Linked DNA regions of Homo sapiens: region 2 is linked to region 1. The links are contacts of gene promoters, found by promoter capture Hi-C in blood cells and fetal thymus (Javierre and others, 2016). All regions are on one chromosome and are shown on one strand. The core of a region is centred on a gene start or on the middle of the fragment in contact, and the rest is flanking DNA. Distances in the headings are between cores, read along the strand shown.

Evidence for each region. Contacts are between HindIII fragments. The CHiCAGO score rates a contact against its expected background, and 5 or more counts as called.
Region 2: a fragment that was not itself captured here is called in contact with the fragment with the promoter of CAGE1 in region 1 in 1 of 17 cell types (total CD8 T cells); the score reaches 5.7 in total CD8 T cells.

Annotation. Positions count from the first base shown.
Region 1 is chr6:7,387,523-7,391,422 of GRCh38, reverse strand. It overlaps CAGE1 (cancer antigen 1), which reads left to right and starts at 1,681. Exons shown (of 14, transcript NM_001170692.2): 1 at 1,681-2,221. It overlaps RIOK1 (RIO kinase 1), which reads right to left and starts at 1,615. Exons shown (of 17, transcript NM_031480.3): 1 at 1,350-1,615. The coding sequence starts at 1,420. RefSeq lists enhancers at 943-1,729, 1,333-1,752, 1,883-1,932, 1,943-2,002. The HindIII fragment of the contact is 2,322 bases long and covers 1-2,250 here.
Region 2 is chr6:11,095,986-11,100,465 of GRCh38, reverse strand. The region is part of intron 1 of SMIM13 (small integral membrane protein 13); the gene reads right to left. Among named protein-coding and RNA genes, the nearest start is that of SMIM13, 4.4 kb to the right of the region's middle. RefSeq lists a silencer at 4,006-4,085. The HindIII fragment of the contact is 4,078 bases long and covers 688-4,480 here.

The DNA.
Region 1 (3,900 bases), core at 432-2,931:
TCAAGTATCAGCTCACTATCACTTGCTCAAGGAAGTCTTCCCTATTTTTCCCCCACTTCTCCTTTGTACTACTTACCCAATTCGAATACAAATAGTCTAATTATTTAATAATATCGGTTTCCCCTGCTAGGGTGCAAGCTCTGTGTCATTCAGGATGGTATTTACCAATGCCTCCCTACCACCTAAGACTAGATCTGACTCACAGAAAGCATTCAACATACATATATTTATTGAAAACATCCCCAATAATTAACAAAATCCGCATGTGATGAATCCTTACTGTAAACATAAAGTACAAGCTGTTTTCTTGGAATTCCAAAATAACTCCAATATGTTTCATTTTGCTTTTAGGCAGGAGTTATCCTTCATCCCTCTTTCCCCAGACTCCACGTCCAGTCTACCACCAAACGCTGCCACTTCTACCTCCAAGACATATCTTTAGGATCTGGGCTCTAGTCCCCACCATCTTTGAATCTGATTACCTTATTATTTTTGAACTGGTCTCTCTGTTCCACTCCCACCCTCCATGAACATCATCTACCTAGAAAGAATGATTCCTTTAAATCACCAAGCAAATAATGTCATTCTTCTGCTAAAATCCCTCCTATGGCTTTCCATAAGACCCACATTAATATCTGAACTTTTCACCATCACTTGTAAAGGTCTCCATGATCTGGCCCCCCTTCTTACTTCTCTATCACCCTACCAATCTTCTCAACTACCTCCACTGTGCTCTAGGCACTCTGGCCTCGGGGCCTTTGCTCTTGCTGTCCCTTCTGTGTGAAATGCTGTTCCCTCTGCTCTTGCCAGGATTAGCTCCTTGTCATTCAAATCTGGACTTAACCTTTCCCTACCCATTCAGTCACCACTTGGTATATCAAACGATTTGCATAGTCTACATCATTATTTGGTTTTTAAATGGTGTGCCCTCTCTTTCACGTAGAAGGTAAAGTTCCATGACAGCAGGAAGTTGGTTCTTCTTGTTACCTCCGGCGCCCAGGACAGAACGTGGTACATATTAAGTGCTTAGTAAGTATTTGTTGAACGCTAAATGTGGTTAAAACGCAAAAACCCATGTTTCCTAATCGCTATCCCCAACTCTGCCTCCCAGTGACGCTAACCGACCTGAGAACCGCAGACTCCCTTGACAAGTAGCTTTCACTTAACTCTGCCGCGTGAACTGGGAGAAAAACCCAGCTGGGATGCAGAAACAGGCAAAGGGTTGTCAAGAGAGACGCTGAGTGATGAACCACTAGTCTCCCTCTAAACCGCAAACAAGAGTCCACACCCCAAGGGGGCGGTCAAGGAGAGAGCCGTACCCAGAGCCAGGGCACTGTACGGCCGCCTACCTGTCAGAGGAGTCCGCGTCGTCGAATTGCCCGGGGACCACCCGGCTCATGAGAAGCCGCCGGTAGTCCATGACTGGAGAGCGCCGCCGGAGGCCGCCGCTCTGCGATGGAAAGGAACGGCTCAGACGGATGTACCCACGGCCGATCCAAAGGCCTTGGCGTGGATATCCGCCTTGCAAACCATTCAGAAGCCAACAGTGGCCACCACGTGCGACGGGAAAACGGGACCGACAGATCCACCACCCTGCCACCCCAACCGGAAGCCCCTCACCGCCTCGCCCGGAAGTCTGACTTGAGCGGAAGTCCCGCCCCTGCGCCGAGCTGGGAGTCCGGAGCTCTCTGGATGGCGCGCTGTATAGGGCTGTGGATGTTCTGTGCTCTCAGGAAGGCGTGTTGAGTAGCCGGCACGGCGAGGCCCGTGCTGGCCGTTTCTTCCCGGAGTTTTCGTTTCTGTACCCCACTTTGTGTTTACTGCGGCAGGAGGCGCCAGCTAGCCCACAGGCTGTTCGGCCTAGGGGGTCGTACCTTCCTAACTTCACCACTCTCTGGGAAGACACCGCACCCACAGTAGGGTCGCTCGGGCCTCGCGGGCTGCACCTGTCTCTGCGGAGTTCCCCCGGCGCGGGCGGACGTCACACAGGGGCGTTCCAGCACTCCGGGAGCCCGATTGCGAGTTTGTGAGAGTCCTTGGTGGAGGAGGTTGGAAAGCGTTCTCCCTCCCACAAAACCCGGTGCAGAGGGAGGGAGAGCCAGGTCCGTAGCGTGGGTCCAAGAAACTATGGATCCTGGAAGTGAGCACACTTTTGTGTCTTAAAAAGTTTGGTGTCTCGTTTTGAGGTGAAAAATGAATGAGATAAGTGCTTTTTAAAAAGGTAAAGTTTGTCTTACAACTGAAAAAGCTTTTAAACAAAACTATAGTTTTTGCGAGTAACTCCCGTGACACCTCTTTTAACTCCTATCTTAAAACAGCTTTAGAATGTCTCTGGAACATCTATTCAAACATTTGATAAATATGTTAAAAATCCAACATAAACCTGTAAGGACAAATGAAAGATGGAAAAAATAGTCTAACTTTAAATTAAAAAGGTAAACTGGCAGATTGTGCAGTGCCACATGAGGGATGAACAAAGTTGTAGAAATGTAATTGGAAGTGCTGGGTTCACAAACAAGAAAACTAAGAAACAAGGCCTTTGCGCTTTTTTGCATTGGGAAAACAAAGCAAGAATTTTTCAGATCTCACCACAATCCAGGCAGCATTATTTGAAAGACAAGGGAGAAGTGAGCATAAAGTTGGGCCTTTCACTGATCCTGACTGGTCTGCTTGGCTTACTTTTTTATATTTTACCAAGTGATGACATAGGTTTGAAAACAACTAATTTTCAATAAACTATTCATTCAGAAATTCAATAAAAGAATCCAGGCAGATGAGTAATGACTATAAATTGAAAGAGCTTGATAGAAATAAGTCATTGGAATGCAGGTTTTATTCAATCAATATTTGCTGTGTAGACAGCACTGGTCCATTTGCAGTAGGGGATATTGGAAAGCCCTAAGTATGCTCCTCTCAAGACATTTATGATCTGTAAACACAAACACTAACACCCTTGAAACAGTGGTGAAGCTCTAAAACAGTAAACGAAATCACCAAGTGCTGAATTGTAAGATAGAGATTTAGAGACTGAAGACATTGTAGGAATTTTGAAAATAGATGAATGGGTAGATGGGAAGGTTTTAGGAGAGAAGCACGTGCCAGGGCAGATGACTGAAGCTTAATTCGTAAGGAACATTATCTGTCTGCAGGGAAATGAGCCTGATCTGAGTAGAGCAGGGGAGTACCGGGTAGGGGATGTCACTCCAGGCTATGGATGGCCTGGAAGGACAAAAATTTATAGAATCAATGTGAGTGGCCATCCTTTCCACTCTCAGCTCTGGAGCTCTGGACAGGCCTGAGGAAGTCAGGAGAATATGGACCAGTGTGGCAACATGGGATGGAAAGAAAGCACAGGTTACTGAAAGACTTTTTTTTTTTTTTTTTTTTTTTGAGATGGAGTCTTGCTCTGTCACCCAGGCTGGAGTGCAGTGGGCCATCTCGGCTCACTGCAAGCTCTGCCTCCGGGGTTCACGCCATTCTCCTCCCTCAGCCTCCAGAGTAGCTGGGACTACAGGCACACGCCACCGCGCCCAGCTAATTTTTTTTTTTTTTTTTTTTTGTATTTTTAGTAGAGATGGGGTTTCACCGTGTTAGCCAGGATGATCTCGATCTCCTGACCTCGTGATCCGCCCGCGTCGGCCTCCCAAAGTGCTGGGATTACAGGCGTGAGCCACCGCGCTCGGCCCTGAAAGACATTTTTAAAGGAGACATGGACGGGACTTGGTATCTGAATAGCCATGCATGATGAGGTAGAGGGATGCCAAGACAAGTCCAGTTTTCAAACACATGTACCTGAGGGAATAGGCGCAGTATAGGAAAGTGAGGAGGGAAAACAGTTACAATGCTGGGTTTGACTTGGTAGTGAGGTGTTCAAGTGGAAGGTATCAAGTAAATAAAAAT
Region 2 (4,480 bases), core at 1,477-3,976, 3.7 Mb before region 1:
GGAAGGAGGGGAAAAGCAATCCATTTGAACACGTGGGAAATACCACTGATGAGTGTAAGAGATTGTGGAACATCTGGTAGGGGGCACATAACAATGTACCAAAGTAGGCCAGGCACCGTGGCTCATGCCTATAATCCCAGTACTTTGGGAGGCCGAGGCAGGTGGATCACGAGGTCAGCAGATCGAGACCATCCTGGCTAACACGGTGAAACCTCATCTCCACTAAAAGTACAAAAAATTAGCTGGGCATGGTGGCAGGCACCTGTAGTCCCAGCTACTCGGGAGGCTGAGGCAGGAGAATCGCTTGAATCCAGGAGGTGGAGGCTGCAGTGAGCCGAGATCACGCCACTGGACTCCAGCCTGGGCAACAGAGTGAGACTCCCTCTCAAAAAAAACAAAAACAAAAACAAAAACAAAAAAACAATGTACCAAAGTAATACTAGGTAAGCTAAAAAGGCAATTATGTATTAACTTCAAAAAATTGAAGAACCATGTAAAAATGAAAGTGTGGTCATATTACACTATTTAACCAGCAGAGAATAATGTTTACAGAGTCAAAATATAAATCCACACTATTAAGTCAGCTAAATGTATTATCAATGGCAAGCAGAGAAAGAAATGGATGGAGCATCTACCACGGTTAATAATGTCTAAAAATATATAGTGGCTATTTAGGTCTGTAAAGCTTATGATGCTTCTCTACCTCTACCCTCACCACTAGGAGAACTGGAGTAACAGAATTGAAATAAACTCTTATCTGTTGTATTGAGATCTCCATTGGGCATATCAGGTGTTTCATTTGTAGGAGCTTGGGTATTCTGCAGCATTCATCTATTCATTTGTTGAACAAATGTTTATTGAGTGTCTACTATGTGCCAGACACTTCTGTAGGTGTCAGGGATATAGTAGTGAAGAAAACAAAATGCCTGCCCTCATTGGGCCTTACCCTCTAGTGTGGGAGACAGATGATGGACAAGTAAAACATGTAGTATGGGCCAGGCACGGTGGGTCACACCTGTAATCCCAGCACTTTGGGAGGCTGAGGCGGGTGGATCACGAGGTCAGGAGATTGAGACCATCCTGGCCAACATGGTGAAACCCCATCGCTACTAAAAATACAAAAACCAGCCGGGTGTGGTGGCGGGCGCCTATAATCTCAGCTACTCGGGAGGCTGAAGCAGAAGAATCCCTTGAACCCAGGAGGTGGAGGTTGCAGTGAGCCGAGATCGCGCCAATGTACTCCAGCCTGGCGACAGAGCTAGACTCCGTCTCAAAAAAAAAAAGTCTGATGCATTGAGCCTGGGTCTCAGGAGAGACATAAGAGTTAGAGAAACAAATTTTTGAGTCATTAGCTAGAGCAGACATTTAAATCTCTAGGACTGGATAGGAGACCTTGGGGAGTAAAAGAAAAGGGAAATGTATTTGCAGTATATTATAGAAACATAATAGAAAAAAATAGAATCTTCTCATACAGTAAGGGCAAGTAGGCAAGTACTAGTCCATAAACATTTTATTTCAGAGATCGATGATAAGTAAATAGATGTATTAATGGACTAACACATGTAATCTGTACACTTATGAACATATTAGGAATAATCTATTTTCTATTGTAGGTTGTGGTCAAAAAAAGAAAATTCTAGGGAATGAGAAGAAGCTAAGAAAAAATAATAGCCACTGTGGTAGGAAGAACATCATGGAAATACAGTATATAAAAGCCAAAGAAATGTTGAATGGACCCGGCATGGTGGCTCATGCCTGTAGTCCCAGCACCCTGGGAGCCCGGGGCAAGTGGATCACCTGAGGTCAGGAGTTCAAGACAAGCCTGGCCAACATGGTGAAACCCCGTCACTACTAAAAATACAAAAAATTAGCTGGGCATGGTGGCTGACACCTGTAATCTCAGCTACTCAGGAGGCTGAGGCAGGAGAATCACTTAGACCCAGGAGTAGAAGTTGCAGTGAACCAAGATTGCACCACTGTACTCCAGCCTGGGCAACAAGAGCAAAACTCCATCTCAAAAAAAGTAAATAAAAGAAACGTTAAATGTTTCTAGCAGACATCACTTAACTGTAAGGAATGAATATGACAATTTAAGCTCAGTTAGGACTAAGAAGCGACCACCACAGGCTGGGTAATATGGAGGCCATCTGTTACTGACTTTGACAACAGCAGCATCACTGAATAGTGGGGGTAGAAAACACCTTGGAATGAATGAGAGGTGAGAAAGCAGAGACAACCAATGTAGACAGAAGGGAAACCTGCCTAGGAATCTGAACTTTGGACATCAGAATTCACTAGGTGAAGGAGTCTGTCAGAGCTCTAGAGAAAACTACATAAATTCCTAGGGACAGGAACTGTGTTCCCAGTTCCTGGTAGACACTCAATATTCAGTTTGTTGAACTGAATGAAATAAGAAAACAGGAGACCCAGCCCAAAGAGCAGAGCCTCTTGATCTGAACTCCATGTTTGTATTCAAGGAAGAGGAGTCCATGAAATCTCAGAAATTGGGTGGGGGGGCGGCGAGCAGGGAGCAGATAAGTTATGTGGGTGAATTTTTCTTTTTTAAAAAAAAAGAAAGGTTCACAGCATTTACCAGACTCTCAAAAGGGCTTGTGACCGCTAGAAGGGTAAAAACAACTGTTTTATGGGCATACAGCTACTCCCTAGCTTTCAGCCAGTGCTAAAGACATGGTGCTTGTTATAGAGTGAATCGTGTGCCATCCAAATTCATATGTTGAAATCCTAACCCCCAGTGTGACTGTACGGTATTTGGAGATAAGGTTTTTTTTTTTTTTTTGAAACGGAGTTTCACTCTTGTCACCCAGGCTGGAGTGCTATGGTGCAATGTCGGCTCACTGCAACCTCCACCTACTGGGTTCAAGCAGTTCTCCTGCCTCAACCTCCTGAGCAGCTGGGATTACAAGCATGTGCCATCATGCCCGGCAAATTTTTGGTATTCTTTTTTTTTTTTTAGCACAGACGGGGATTCGCCATGTTGGCCAGGCTGGTCTCGAACTCCTGATCTCAGGTGATCTGCCTGCCTCTGCCTTCCAAAGGGCTGGGATTACAGGCATGGGCCGCCATGCCCGGCCTGCAGATAAAGATTTTTAAAGAGGTAATTAAGGTTAAATAAAGTCATAGGGTGAGGAGCCATAATCCAGCGACTGATGTCCTTATAAAGAGATTAGAACACACAAAGGAGAGACTATGTGAAGACATAAGGAGAAGACCACCATCTACAAGCCAAGGAGAGAAGCCTCAGGAGAAAATCAACCCTGCTGATCTCTGACTTTTAGCTTCCAGAGCTGTAAAAAAATAAATGCGTTTGGCTGGGCATGGGTGGCTCATGCCTGTAATCCCAGCACTTTGGGAGGTCGAGGTGGGCAGATCACCTGAGGTCGGGAGCTCGAGATCAGCCTGACCAACATGGAGAAACCGCATCTCTACTAAAAATACAAAATTAGCCAGGCACTGGGGACGGGCACTGTGGCTCACGCCTGTAATCCCAGCACTTTGGGAAGCCGAGGCGGGTGGATCACCTGAGGTTGGGAGTTCGAGACCAACCTGGCCAACATGGAGAAACCCCATCTCTATTAAAAACAGAAAATCAGCTAGGCGCATGCCTGTGATCCCAGCTACTCAGGAGGCTGAGGCAGAAGAATTGCTTGAACCCGGGTGGCAGAGGTTGCGGTGAGCCGAGATCACGCCATTGCACTCCAGCCTGGGCAACGAGAGTGAAACTCCAACTCAAAAAAAGAAAAAAGAAAAAAAAAAGCAAAACAAAGAAAAGAAATGAGTTGTTTAAGCCACCCACCAGTCTCTGGTATTTTGTCATGGCAGCCCTGGCAAACTAATATCGCACTCCAATTTCTCTCTTAAGTCTGGTCTGATCCTTGCCTCCTCTCCCCAAGTTCCCGCCCCATCCTAGTCAAAAGATGAGGCTACTCCATCATCAGTTCTCCCAACAACAACAAAAAAAGTATTGATCACTTCATCATAGAGCTTTTAGTTCTTGACTATTCCAAAAACTAAGGTGTCCTAGCACAGGGCTCTCCAGCCCTAGCACACAGATCCCTCCTCCCTGCAGGAGGCAAGTATTACCATCTGAGCTCCGCCTCCTGTCTGATCAGCGACATACCAGATTCTCATAGGAGCACAAACCCTATTGTGAAATGCACATAGGAGGGATCTAGGTTGCTCGCTCCTTATGAGAATCTAACTAATGCCTGATGATCTGAGCTGGAATAATTTTATCCCAAAACCATCCCTGCTCCGTCTGTGGAAAAATTGTTCTCCACAAAACAAGTCCCTGGTACCAAAAAGGTTGGGGACTGCTGTCCTAGCACACCTCATCTCTCTTATTCCTTAATGTTTCTGAAACTAAAAGCACTTTTAGAAAAATGTGTATAATTAAACCATCAAACAGCTGTTTAGAGATGAGAGAGCAATTTGGATTTCTGAAGCCATAAAGGTAAATTTG